2 separate regions of the Homo sapiens genome follow, and region 1 is linked to region 2. The links are contacts of gene promoters, found by promoter capture Hi-C in blood cells and fetal thymus (Javierre and others, 2016). All regions are on one chromosome and are shown on one strand. The core of a region is centred on a gene start or on the middle of the fragment in contact, and the rest is flanking DNA. Distances in the headings are between cores, read along the strand shown. Region 1 holds the start of ZNF821 (zinc finger protein 821). Region 2 holds the start of GLG1 (golgi glycoprotein 1).

The links. Contacts are between HindIII fragments. The CHiCAGO score rates a contact against its expected background, and 5 or more counts as called.
Region 1: a contact is called between the fragment with the promoter of ZNF821 here and the fragment with the promoter of GLG1 in region 2, in 1 of 17 cell types (M0 macrophages). The highest score is 5.0, in M0 macrophages.

What each region holds. Positions count from the first base shown.
Region 1 is chr16:71,879,645-71,885,461 of GRCh38, forward strand. It overlaps ZNF821 (zinc finger protein 821), which reads right to left and starts at 4,538. Exons shown (of 8, transcript NM_001201552.2): 1 at 4,264-4,538; 2 at 3,567-3,629; 3 at 263-379. The coding sequence starts at 302. RefSeq lists enhancers at 3,364-3,563, 5,404-5,817 and silencers at 3,924-4,043, 4,064-4,823. The HindIII fragment of the contact is 5,845 bases long and covers 3,867-5,817 here.
Region 2 is chr16:74,603,475-74,609,200 of GRCh38, forward strand. GLG1 (golgi glycoprotein 1) reads right to left here and starts at 3,640. Exons shown (of 26, transcript NM_001145667.2): 1 at 3,183-3,640. The coding sequence starts at 3,620. RefSeq lists silencers at 3,211-3,390, 3,621-3,810. The HindIII fragment of the contact is 13,128 bases long and covers 2,606-5,726 here.

The DNA.
Region 1 (5,817 bases), core at 3,288-5,787, 2.7 Mb before region 2:
AAAGATATATCAAGTGTACATACCCCTAAGATAGGTTTCCAACACCTCCCCCAGCAACCAGACACACTTTAAATCCACCATTTCCAACATTTTTAACCCTTTTTCTTTCTTTCTTTTTTTCTCTTCTGCTCAGCAAACTGTGTTTTACATTTAAACTTTTCTTCTTCACAAATTAGCGTGAGCTTCTCCCCTAAATTCAGGTTACTCTTCCATTCCACCCCTTAGCATTCCCAGGTTCCAGAAGACAAAGCCCGATACTCACAGTGAACTTTATTTGGATTTGTCTGTTTCCGACGGGACATGTTTCCCTGATGCAAGAGCTCTGGTCTTTCCCAGTTTCACGACTGGATATGTTACTACCTCCTTGCAAGATGCTAACCTGCAATAAAAAAGGTTATTGTTAGCACATGTCATTTTCCCCAGCAGTTACACAAAATTTAAAGATAAAATGTCCTTAAAAAACAGCTCCTGAGCATATAAAACTCACCAGTTATAAATAATTGAACTAATGAAAGAAAGAAAGAAATGAATAAATCTCTAGCCTAACGTCAAGGTCCCAGAAAGTTTAAGAGGGGACTCCCTCAGAGGACTTAGAGAATTATACTCTAAATCCATCTTTGGAATCCAGAATACTGTTAAGTGATCATGATCAAGGTCACAGGATAAAAGAGGAAGTAAAACTCAGGCATCCAGGGTTAGAAGTACTGTGGGCTCAAGGGGATAACTCCGATGAATTGCAAAAGGAAGCAAAAGGAAGCCAAAGAGGGTGGCAGCTCACATGTCACATGCCCACTGGAAGTCAAGCCCTGCAGTCTACACCAGCGGATTTTTCATGATGTTATCTTGCCTAGAGGTAGCAAAGGCATCACATCCCTGCGAGACAGAAAATGTCTCAAATAGGCATCTGTAAATGAGAACAGCATGGGAAATAAAGCCTCTATCTGGTGATACAGGCGCAATGCTATGCTGCACTGTGAATGACATGGCACTAAGCAAATCAAACTTCTAATGTTGAAGATGGGCTCTCACCAGAAGAGACAGATGCCATCCACATTGATGAGTACTAATTCAACACCCCAGTGTGGAATACCACCTGGCCCTCCTCACACATTCCAGAGAGGTGGTCAAAGTTAATAACTTTAGAGGCTCTTCTCAATCTAGCCTCTGGGTAGCAAAGAGAACAGTGGGAGGAATAAAGAGAAAAGTTCCCCAAACGAAAAATGCTGCCAAGACATGCATCTGCTCCCCACCCCATATAGGAGGGGATATATACGTAAGCCTGAAGGTTCCTGATTAACTACAGAAAGAGTGCCCCAGCCTTAAGCATTGTTAGAGAATCTGAGATGGATTAGTATTGATAGCTGTGTCATTTTCTTAGAAAGAGTGAATAAAGACATAGAATAAAAAGGGATTGTCTTTCCTACCAAAGACAGGAATATGGATCTGGTCACACTCTTAAGTTTTCTTTCAGTTCCTGCCTTCTTGAGTTATACTCACATTGAATAAGCAAACATAAAATCATAGTTTATTGCCTTAAGAGGAGTTATGGGAGACTACTGCTAGCTATATTTTGTACTCCAGTTAATGAAGACTCACCTCCTGTTATGCCAACTAACTCCTCTATGTAGCTAGAAGGACCTCAAACCTATAATCAGATCCTGCCTCCCCTTACCAAAAGAATAAAGAAACCGCAAATGGCAAAGACAGGCCTCCACAGGAAGTGGCAAAGGAAGCAGCTTTCAGGCAGTCTTCTAGCATATCTGCATATCAAACACAGTTCTTTTTCAGACCTTTAATTAAAAACAAAACAAAACAAAACTCTAAATGTATACAATAAAAATCAATTTAAACTATTTAGAGGGCAATATACTGAGTGCTGATAGTGTATGTTCTCTAAGTTTTGTGTATGTCATTTTTTTCTAATCAAGTAGTTGTTTTATTCACGGAAGCAGTGAATGAATATCACACTTTGGATTTCCTATATGTGTGTGGAATCACCAAGTGGAAAGGTAATGAAATGCAGGCTCTATTAATATTTTTAAAAATATGGCCAGGCACCGTGGCTCACGCCTGTAATCCCAACACTTTGGGAGGCCAAGGCAGGCAGATCACTTGAGGCCAGGAGTTTGAGACCAGCCTGGCCAATATGGGGAAACCTCTAATAAAAATACAAAAATTAGCTGGGCATGGTGGTGCACACCTGTAAATTCCAGCTACTCGGGAAGCTGAGGCATGAGAATCGCTTGAACCTGGGGAGGGGAGGTTGCAGTGAGCTGGGATGGAGGCACTACACTGCAGCTTGGGCAACAGAGTGAGACTCCATCTCAAAAAAAGATAAAAAACTGCCATGGGCGGTGGCTCTCGCCTGTAATCCCAGCACTTTGGGAGGCTGAGGCGGGTGGATCACCTGAGGTCGGGAGTTTGAGAACAGCCTGGCCAACATGGTGAAACCCCGTCTGTACTAAAAATACAAAAACTAGCTGGGCGTGGTGATGCATGTCTGTAATCTCAGCTACTCAGGAGGTTGAGGCAGGGAATTGCTTGAACCCGGGAGGCGGAGGTTGCAGTGAGCCAAGAACGCACCACTGCACTCCAGCCTGGGCGACAGAACGAGACTCCGTCTCAAAAAAAAAAAAAAAAGATAAATAAAAATTTAAAAAAATAAAATATACTCCTCTAATGTGATAATCTATTGAGGCTAAATATATATATACTCTATTATAGAAGAAAAAACAGAATCTTGACTAATTTTTATATTTTCTCCCTTCAAGATCAGAAACTGAAACTGTAAGATAAAGGTAATAAAGTCCCTTCTGAAGGAAGGCCAAATAATTTGAACCAGACAACATTTCAATATTAAAGCTCCAAGTCAAAAGACAGAGATGAGTGTCTGCGTATTTAAATCAGCAATGCCCGCTGCATCTTATAATCCTCCTAGTGGCCAAATGGGGAACTGACCAGATGGTACCCAATGGGACTTCACACCTGAGTGATCAAGAGAAAAATAAGCAATTACAGTCCCCTCCCACACAACGAAACGAAAATAATAACAAAAACACCCACAAAAACAGGCCTGTGGGGTCATGGGCTGTTGAAAATCAATAAGTAAATAAATAAATGGCGCTGAAAGGACACTCTTGACCACAAAGCAAGATCTCAGAGGCCAGATGACTTGTTTTATAGGCAGTTAAAGCTAATAAAACCCAGAGACATACAGCCCTAAAGGTCACTCATTTTGTTTTACTTTTAACACTGCCTCAATTTCCAAGCCAAAACCTGAAACCAAACCAAACCAAAAATGTAAATAGATAGCTGCCTGAACATGGGCTGGGAAGACAGGTAAACGGTGAGATTCAGGTCTAAAGGGATTCCATTTTAAAAGGAAAGCAGTTCTGTCTGTCTTCAGAGCAAGGTTAAGAGTCCTCGGGAAGGTGCAACGTCTCCCCTGAACACTGTCTCTGCTCTCCCACAGGTATTAGGTTGCAGCGTCTAGGGCACACCACAGACTTTGGCAAGAAAAAAAACGAGTGAAATCTCAGCTTGATGAAAAGAGAGTGCGTTCCCACCTCCAGCTCTGGTGCAGTTCCCACGGAGCAAAGCAAACTCGACTGAATCCAAGTGATCTGTATCTGCCAAAAAGGAGAGGACAAGAAAGCTGGTCACTTAGCCGCCTGGCTGTTCACCTGACCCCTGGGGTTGGGTCTGGGGCGTGTCTAATCAGCCGAGATGGTCCCTCTGCTTCTTCAAGCATGAGCCCAGGTAAATTCCCAGGAATTACCAGACAAGAGCCTGACAAGAGCCGGAGGTCTTCCGAGGCGGCTCAGACAAACCCTTAGACAACACAATCTCCGAAATCTAAATTTAGAAGCTTTTCTGCGAGACCCAGACGCGGGGACTGATACCCCCCGGTCTGCACGCCCACGCCCATCCTCCCCTCCCCCAGCTCCACCCAAGGCTGTCAGACGCCGGGGCCGTCCCCGCCGGGGCCCGAGGAGGCGGGGTGCCCGCGGCCCGCGCAAAAGCCCCCCGGCCCCGCACCCCGCGCCCCGCGCCCGAGAGCGCCAAGGGGCAGCAGGAGGAGCGGCCGGGGAGGAATTGGGGTTGGAAGCGGGGAGGGTGAGCCCGGGCTGCCCCCCTAGGCCGGAGCTGGCCCCCGGCCCTCTCCCCAGTGCAGACAAAAGGACCAACAGCCGGCGGCCGCGAGGGGGCGAGGAGCCCGCATCCCCAGCCCGGACCCGGAGGGAGGGCAGGGGGTCTTTTTACCCGGCGCCTCGGCGCTGCGCTGCGCTCTGGGTCCCTGGGCCCCGCCTCCGGACAGACGGACCGCCGGACAATGGACCCGGGACCGCAGCCCAAGCCAGCCGGGCCGGGGCGCTCCGGGACTGGGCCCCGGCGAGCGGAAGGGGCTCCGGGCCGAGCCGAGCCGGTGGCGGGGAGCCGAGGGGCGGCGCTGCAGACGGACAAAGCCAACAGCAGACAGACAGACGGAGGGGGAAAAAGATGGCGACGCGGGCGGCGGGAGCGCGCGGCTCGCGCACCCGCAGCTAGTGAGGCGCGTGCACGAGCCTCCCTCTCCCCCTCCCCCGCGCCGGCCAGGTCCCCTTCCCCGCGGCCCGGCGCGCGCCTGGCGTTGTGGGCGGGGCCTGAGGAGAGGGGCTCTGGAGAGGAGGGGCTCCGGGGAGCGCCCAATCCCGGGCGCCCGAGAGGGGCTCGCCCGCGTTCCAGGGCTCCGGAACCCCCCGCCTCGCCCATTCCCGGGTCTTTCTCTGGCTGTCTCAGCCGCTCAGCTCCCCCAGACCTTCCTGGACGTGTAAACGCCACCCTACCCAGCCCCGATCCTGGTTTCTTACCCCACCATCGAGTTCAGCCACAAAACCCACAACCCCCAACCACAGCTCCGCCGCAGGCACCCCCTCTCCTTAGCCCGGATCCCCACCACCGTCACAAACCCTCTTCGCCTCATTCCCCCACGCTTCGCGGTGGCTTCGGCTCCCGAGGCTTTGAATGTGACCACGGGCCTTGGTGGGAGGGGCCAAGTTCAGCTGTCAGAACCTCAGAGCTGGGAAATCTTGAGATTTCTTTTGAGTATTTAATTTTCTGACATGATTCTCAACTGATAAAATAACATTGGCTGCAGACCCAGGGGCAGGGGAACTTGTGGCACTGTTGTCACTTGAGGGATGTTTGGGGGCAATGGAGAGCCGTTGGACCTTTTTTTTTTTTTTTTTTTTGAGACAGAGTCTCGCTCTGTCACCCAGGCTGCAATGCAATGGCGCGATCTTCGCTCACTGCAACCTGCGCCTCCCAGGTTCAAGCGATTCTCGTGCTTCAGCCTCCCGAGTAGCTGGGACTACAGGCGTGCACCACCACGCCCAGCTAATTTTTGTATTTTTAGTAGACGGGGTTTCACCATGTTGGCCAGGCTGGTCCCGAACTCCTGACCTCAGGTGATCCTCCCGCCTCGGCCTCTCAAAGTGCTGGGATTACAGGCGTAAGCCACTGTGCCCGGCCTGGTTGGACGCACTTCTAGTCAAACACCTCCTCCTGTCCACGTCCTTCTCTCTCCTAGTTCCTGTTGCCTTCTTTTCTTCCTCTCTTCTAGAATGCCTGAGCCTGCCCTGGCATCGCTTACCTGGAGAAGCAGGGAATGCAGAGGAAAGAAGATGAGATCTGGTATTAGAAGATCTGGCTTTGAGCCCCAGCTCTGCCACCCACCAGCCTGTTGACTTTGGGCAAGTCACTTCCCTGTTCTGAGCCTCTGCTTCCTAAGATGTCAAATGGATAATGATGCAATAATTCCTGGCCTTTACTCTCCGA
Region 2 (5,726 bases), core at 2,390-4,889:
ACTATGTTGCCAGGCTGGTACTGAACTCCTAGCTCAAGCAATCCTCCTGCCTCAGCCTCCCAAAGGGCTAGGATTTCAAGTGTGAGCCACTGCGCCCGGCTGAACACCACAAACTTCTAAGGAACCAAGGTCTCCATCTGAAACTTCGAAATACAAGACACTAGTGGAAAAAAAAAAAGTGCTACTGGCCATTTCAACCAAGAATAAGTAAAGTATTTTAAAATGACTGACAACATCAAGCATGCCTTCCTTATCACATACTAAGCAACAGTATCTTCTCTTTCTTTGGTATTATTACTCCACCTACTAGAACAGCCCAGGGAATATTTTTTCTTTTCTGCCTTACACTTTCTAATTTTTTGTTTTTATTTAAATAACTTGAACTACTAATAATTATACACACACAACTAGGACTACTAACACACCATTACTGGCTATTACATCTATTATTTCATAGTGGACCCATGATATACTTGGCCTTTTTAAAAGCATGACTCATCCGAGAGCGTTAAAAAAAAAAAAAAAGAATCCCAAGGCCAGGCACAGTGGCTCACAACTCTAATCCCAGCACTTTGGAAAGCCCAGCTGGGAAGATCACTTGAACCCGGAATGTGGAGGCTTCAGTGAACTCTCAAACCCAGAAGACTGAGGCTGCAGTGAGCTATGACTGCACCACTGCACTCCAGCCTGGATGACAGAGCGAGACCCTGTCTCCATAATAAAAAATTTTTTTTCAGAAAGAAAAGTTCCATAAGGTTCCAAAAAGCAAAAGTTAAGTTTGACATATGCCAAGTACTACAGTGAATCCACATGAATGAACTGATATGTAGGCACTGTACTAGGTATCACAAGTATTTTAGAGAAGACAAGAATTCGGAAGGGTGTGCACAGATGATATGGAAATACGACACCATTTTATACGGTATAAGGTACTTGAGCGTCCTTGGATTTCAATATCTGCAGGAGGCCTGGAACCATCCTCCAGTGATACCAAGGAACAACTGTACTCATATGCTCTGCCTTTTCATAATTCCAATAATGGGTACGGATAGGAAAATGTTCCCTGCATTTGCATGCAAAGGGACAGAAAAGTACATATATCTATTTCACTATCAAATAGTTCTACTTACTGAACAGCAAATACAAAACATATTCTATACATGTTTCTTCAAATGTGCCTAACTAGTTTACTTCTTTAAGTTATGCTCTTTCAAACACATAGATCAGATTTAATTAACTCCCAGACTAAGCAGAATGAAATTTCCTTTCGCTGTCTTTAAAGAAAAAGAAAATAGGGTGGGGGTGGTGGCTCACACCACTAATCTCAGCACTTTGGGAGCCCGAGGCTGGCAGATCACAAGGTCAGGAGATCGAGACCATCCTGGCCAACATGGTGAAACCCTGTCTCTACTAAAAATACAAAAATTAGCTGGGCGTGGTGGCGCTCGCCTGTAGTCCCAGGTACTCAGGTGGCTGAGGCAGAATTGCTTAAAGCCGGGAGGTGGAGGTTGCAGTGAGCCAAGTTCAAGCCACTGCACTCCAGCCTGGCGACAGAGTGAGACTCCATCTCAAAAAAAAGAAAAGAAGTTTAAAAATAACTCCACCTCCTGAAGAATACACATAGGTGTTCACAGTACTCTTCCTTCATTATTTCTGTATGTAAAAACTGGAGGAAAAAACATTAAATTGGAAATTTGGTCCCTCCACCTCCCCCCAACCCCCCAAAACCCCCATTTCCAATTTATATGACGCCTTTCCTCCTCTGGAGCATAAAACTGCCTCCTTTAAGTGGAGGTTTCCAAATGTCCGGAATACACATGAAGGATATATACACTCCTTGAATAGGCCACTTTTTGCCACTTTCCCTAATAATGTGCTGTTTCTACCACAAACTACTACTAATTGTTTGGTCACCAGTATTAGGATCCTAGTTTGATGAAACGACATCTATTATGTGTCCTCAAAGAGCGAAAAGAAAATTCCAAAAAGTTCGACAGAGTTAGGAATATTAGCTGTATCTACCAGAGGACTATCCCTCTAGTCGTTAAGCTGAAGATGAGAAGTCAGGTAAGGCCTCACATTTCTAGGGGCTCTGGAAACTTCCTTTCTTTCTGTCTCCTGCTTATGTATGTCTTTTCCTCTATCTGAATTGCTTTTGTATAGAATACTAGAACACGAGATGAAGGGGGGAAATGCCAAGAGAAGCAAATTTCTACAAGCAAGTGGTCTTGCTATAGCTTGAACGCCTTAAACAAATCTGATATTTAAAAAAAAAACCAAAAACAGTATCAAGTGGTAGCTTCATTCTATTTGTCCACCTTTAGGGCTAATTTTATATACCTACACCTCTGGAAAAAGTTACTACTGTCAGATTTGCTCCCAAACTTTGAGAATTGTCATTATGGTCTGCAGCATTAAACCTAGATTATAAATTATCAATGTCACTTGATTATAAATTATCAATGTCACTCAACTGAATCACACCAAGCAACGACAAATGTAGATTTCATTAAGAGATACTGTTAAAATCACATTCAGACCTCAGAAAGGCAAGATCCCATAACCCAGTCACAAACACAGCTTCAAACGCTTCCCCAACTTTTCAAGCTTTGGGGCGCCAAGTCACTGGGAGTTAACAGCTTAAACATGGGGTTCAATACAACTGACCAAAGGAAGTGAAGAAAACAAAGCATACATTAATTTCAGCACCAAAAATATGGATTTGCGAATTACATCTACTGCTAATAAACAGATCATTCTTTACAGCCTAAGTACGCCAGGCATTTTTTTATGTTTAAATGGCTTGCCACAAATTGTCCTAGTCGAAACTGATGGCAAAATCCTAAACTGATCTTCGGCGAGGAGACACTCTGCATAGAGCATCACACAAAAGACAGGAGCGAACAGACACGCTCTGGGCCTCGGCGGATTGCGGCCAGGAGCCCAGGTTTTCGTCCCAGACCCCGGCAACAGGGAGGGAAATAAGGGCGGGGGAAAGAAGGAGTGGGAGTGGTATCCTTTTCCCTGAAAGCGCCTGGGAGTGAGGAGCAAAGAGGGAAGGAGCGAGTGCAGCACAGAGGAAGCAAGGAAAGCAGCCGACCGGCGTCAGCGGCTTCCAAGGCCGGCAACACCCTCGGGCCCGCACCAGGCCTGGCCCTCCCGGCTTCGTCCCACCTCCTCACCTCCCTCACATCCTGCAGGCACTCGAGCACCGCCAGGTTGTTGCTCCAGGTGTGCTTAGGGCACACGCGGGTCACGTCCTCCCTGCAGGACTCTTCCTCCGCCAGCTTCCAGCCCCCACCAGCCCCCGCTCCTCCCCGCCGGGCCGGAGGCCCACCCGCCGGGAAAGGCGGCTGCGGCGGCTGAGGCTGCTGTTGCTGTTGCTGCTGCTGCTGTTGCTGCTGAAGCTGCGATGACTGAGGCAGCTGGGGCAGCTGCTGACCCGCCGGGCCGCCGCCTCCGGCCTGCCCTACGAAGGACACAAAGTTGGCCCCGGGACCCTGGCCCTGGCTGTGGACGCCCTGGCCGGGGAGTTTCTCGGCCCCGGCCGCGAATAGCAGCAGCAGATGCAGCGCCGCCGACAAGCGGAACATCCTCCGTACACGTCCACACGCCGCCATCTTGAGTCCGCGGCGAGCTCGACGCACTCGCCGGCGCCGCGTATTTAAATGAGGGGGTGGAGACGCTGGGCGTGGCAGCGTGGCCCTGCCGAGCCCCGCCCCGCCGGCGCCGACCCGCGAACCCAGAGTGGGGCGAAGGAGGAGGCCGTGCTGGAAACCGCACACACCCTGGACCGGCGGGCGGGAGAGCGGCGCTCCTTACCCGGGGGGGTTGCTGGGGTTTCTTAAAAAGCCCGGGCAGGGCGGCCTACTCTAATTCCATTTGCTGTCACAAAAAAAAAAATCAAGGGAATTGGGGTTGCCACAACCAAAATGGCCGGTAGAATATGTCGCCGGTTCAATGACTTGGAAAACAAAAACTTTATATGTAGAGGTGAACTTTGCACAACCAGGTGTATTACGGAATCGGAAAGCCTCTCCTTGTATCGCTCCCTCCTTCCTTCCTTCCTTCCATCTGCCTCAGAAGTCTTTCTTAGCCAAAGAGAGAGACAGCATTGAATAGGGTTAAGAGCATAAGTTCTGGGGTAAGAAAAAAAATTAAGGTTATAATCCTTGCTCTGGCAGGGTACGCAAGAGCTCAAATGTAAAGTACCATTGGCAAGATTCGAAATAATAATTTAAGTGCCTGGCCCACAACACTGAACTCAAAAAGTCACAGCCAGTATTGTTAATAAACTGGGAAGCCGTTTATGCATGAATCCTGATTTTAAGCCAGCATTTAGATTCATGTTTAAAGGATGAAAAAATAATAATAAAACACATCTTTGAGGACTCGGGTTAAGTCTGTGTGTCGGTAACTGTTCTCATTGACCTGCATGCAACACCGCAGGCACCCCACACTAGCATCCCCTCCCTGTCCTTAGGAGAGAGGATATGTTCCCAAAGCCTCTTCACATCCGCTGTGTAATCTGAGCCATGCATCAGGCCTGCGTTAGGTTCTCATTTAACTGAAGAATGGCACAGAGATGTTAACAGTTCTGCGTGGAGGGATTAAATGAGCTGCCCAAGAGGAACTCTGCCATCCTGTAGACAGCTAGGCTAGCCACCAGAATCCCTGGGGCTTCCCACCACCCTGGCGCACTTTCATCCCACTCTGTCCATGCACATGTTGGGGAATGAGGGCAGTTTGGGTTGTGTAATCTCCACTGGTCATTGTGTCCAAAAATGCGAATTACATCTACTGTAGTAAACAGACAGCTTCTGCTGTCCTGACCCGCAAATGAGCAGTCAAGACCAAGTTAGACATAACTAGAACCTGAAAAGTCAGGAGCTCAGGGAACCCAAAAGGAGCTCCTGAGACTGAAGATATTCTGTGAGTACAAATTACCCACTGTGGCTGACCCCAGGCCTCTATCATGGGGAATGAGAGCTTGTTGGCATCTCCACCAACGGTCACCTTTGCTACTGTCATAAAATGATCATGAGGCTGCTGCTAACCTTGAGCACTGACTAAGGCAGCCCCATGTTTATTAGCAAACACATGGCATAGGTAAGTTTCAGTCAGGCAGGCTGGACACATCACCAGAAGTCCTTGAGATGTCACTAGCGTATGTTAATTTTTTTTTTTTTTTTTTGAGACGGAATCTCACTCTGTTGCCCAGGCTGGAGTGCAGTGGCGTGATCTCTGCTCGGAGCTGCCACCTCCACCTCCTGGGTTCAAGCAGTTCTCCTGCCTCAGCCTCCGAGTGGCTGGGATTACAGGCATGTGCCACCACACCCAGCTAATTTTTGTATTTTTAGTAGCGACGGGGTTTTGCCATGTTGGCCAGGCTGGTCTCGAACCCCAAACCTCAGGCGATCTGCCCACCTCAGCCTCCCAAAGTGCTAGGATTACAGGCGTGAGGTACTGCGCCTGGCCTCCATTAATTTTCAATGCTGAGTCTGCATGTGTTCAGACAAGTGGGAGATTATTTTAAGCCAGTTTAACTAGAAATTGACAATCCTAGATAAGCCATCAGTTACTTATCTTTCAGCCTGAACTGAGGAAACCACAGCCACAGATTGCCTCCAGAGATAGGGAGGAGTACACATGGCTATCTTGAAATCTCAGTCACCAAGAAGCAAGAAACAGATAAATCTGGGAACCTGGCCAGCTCAGGCTGTCAG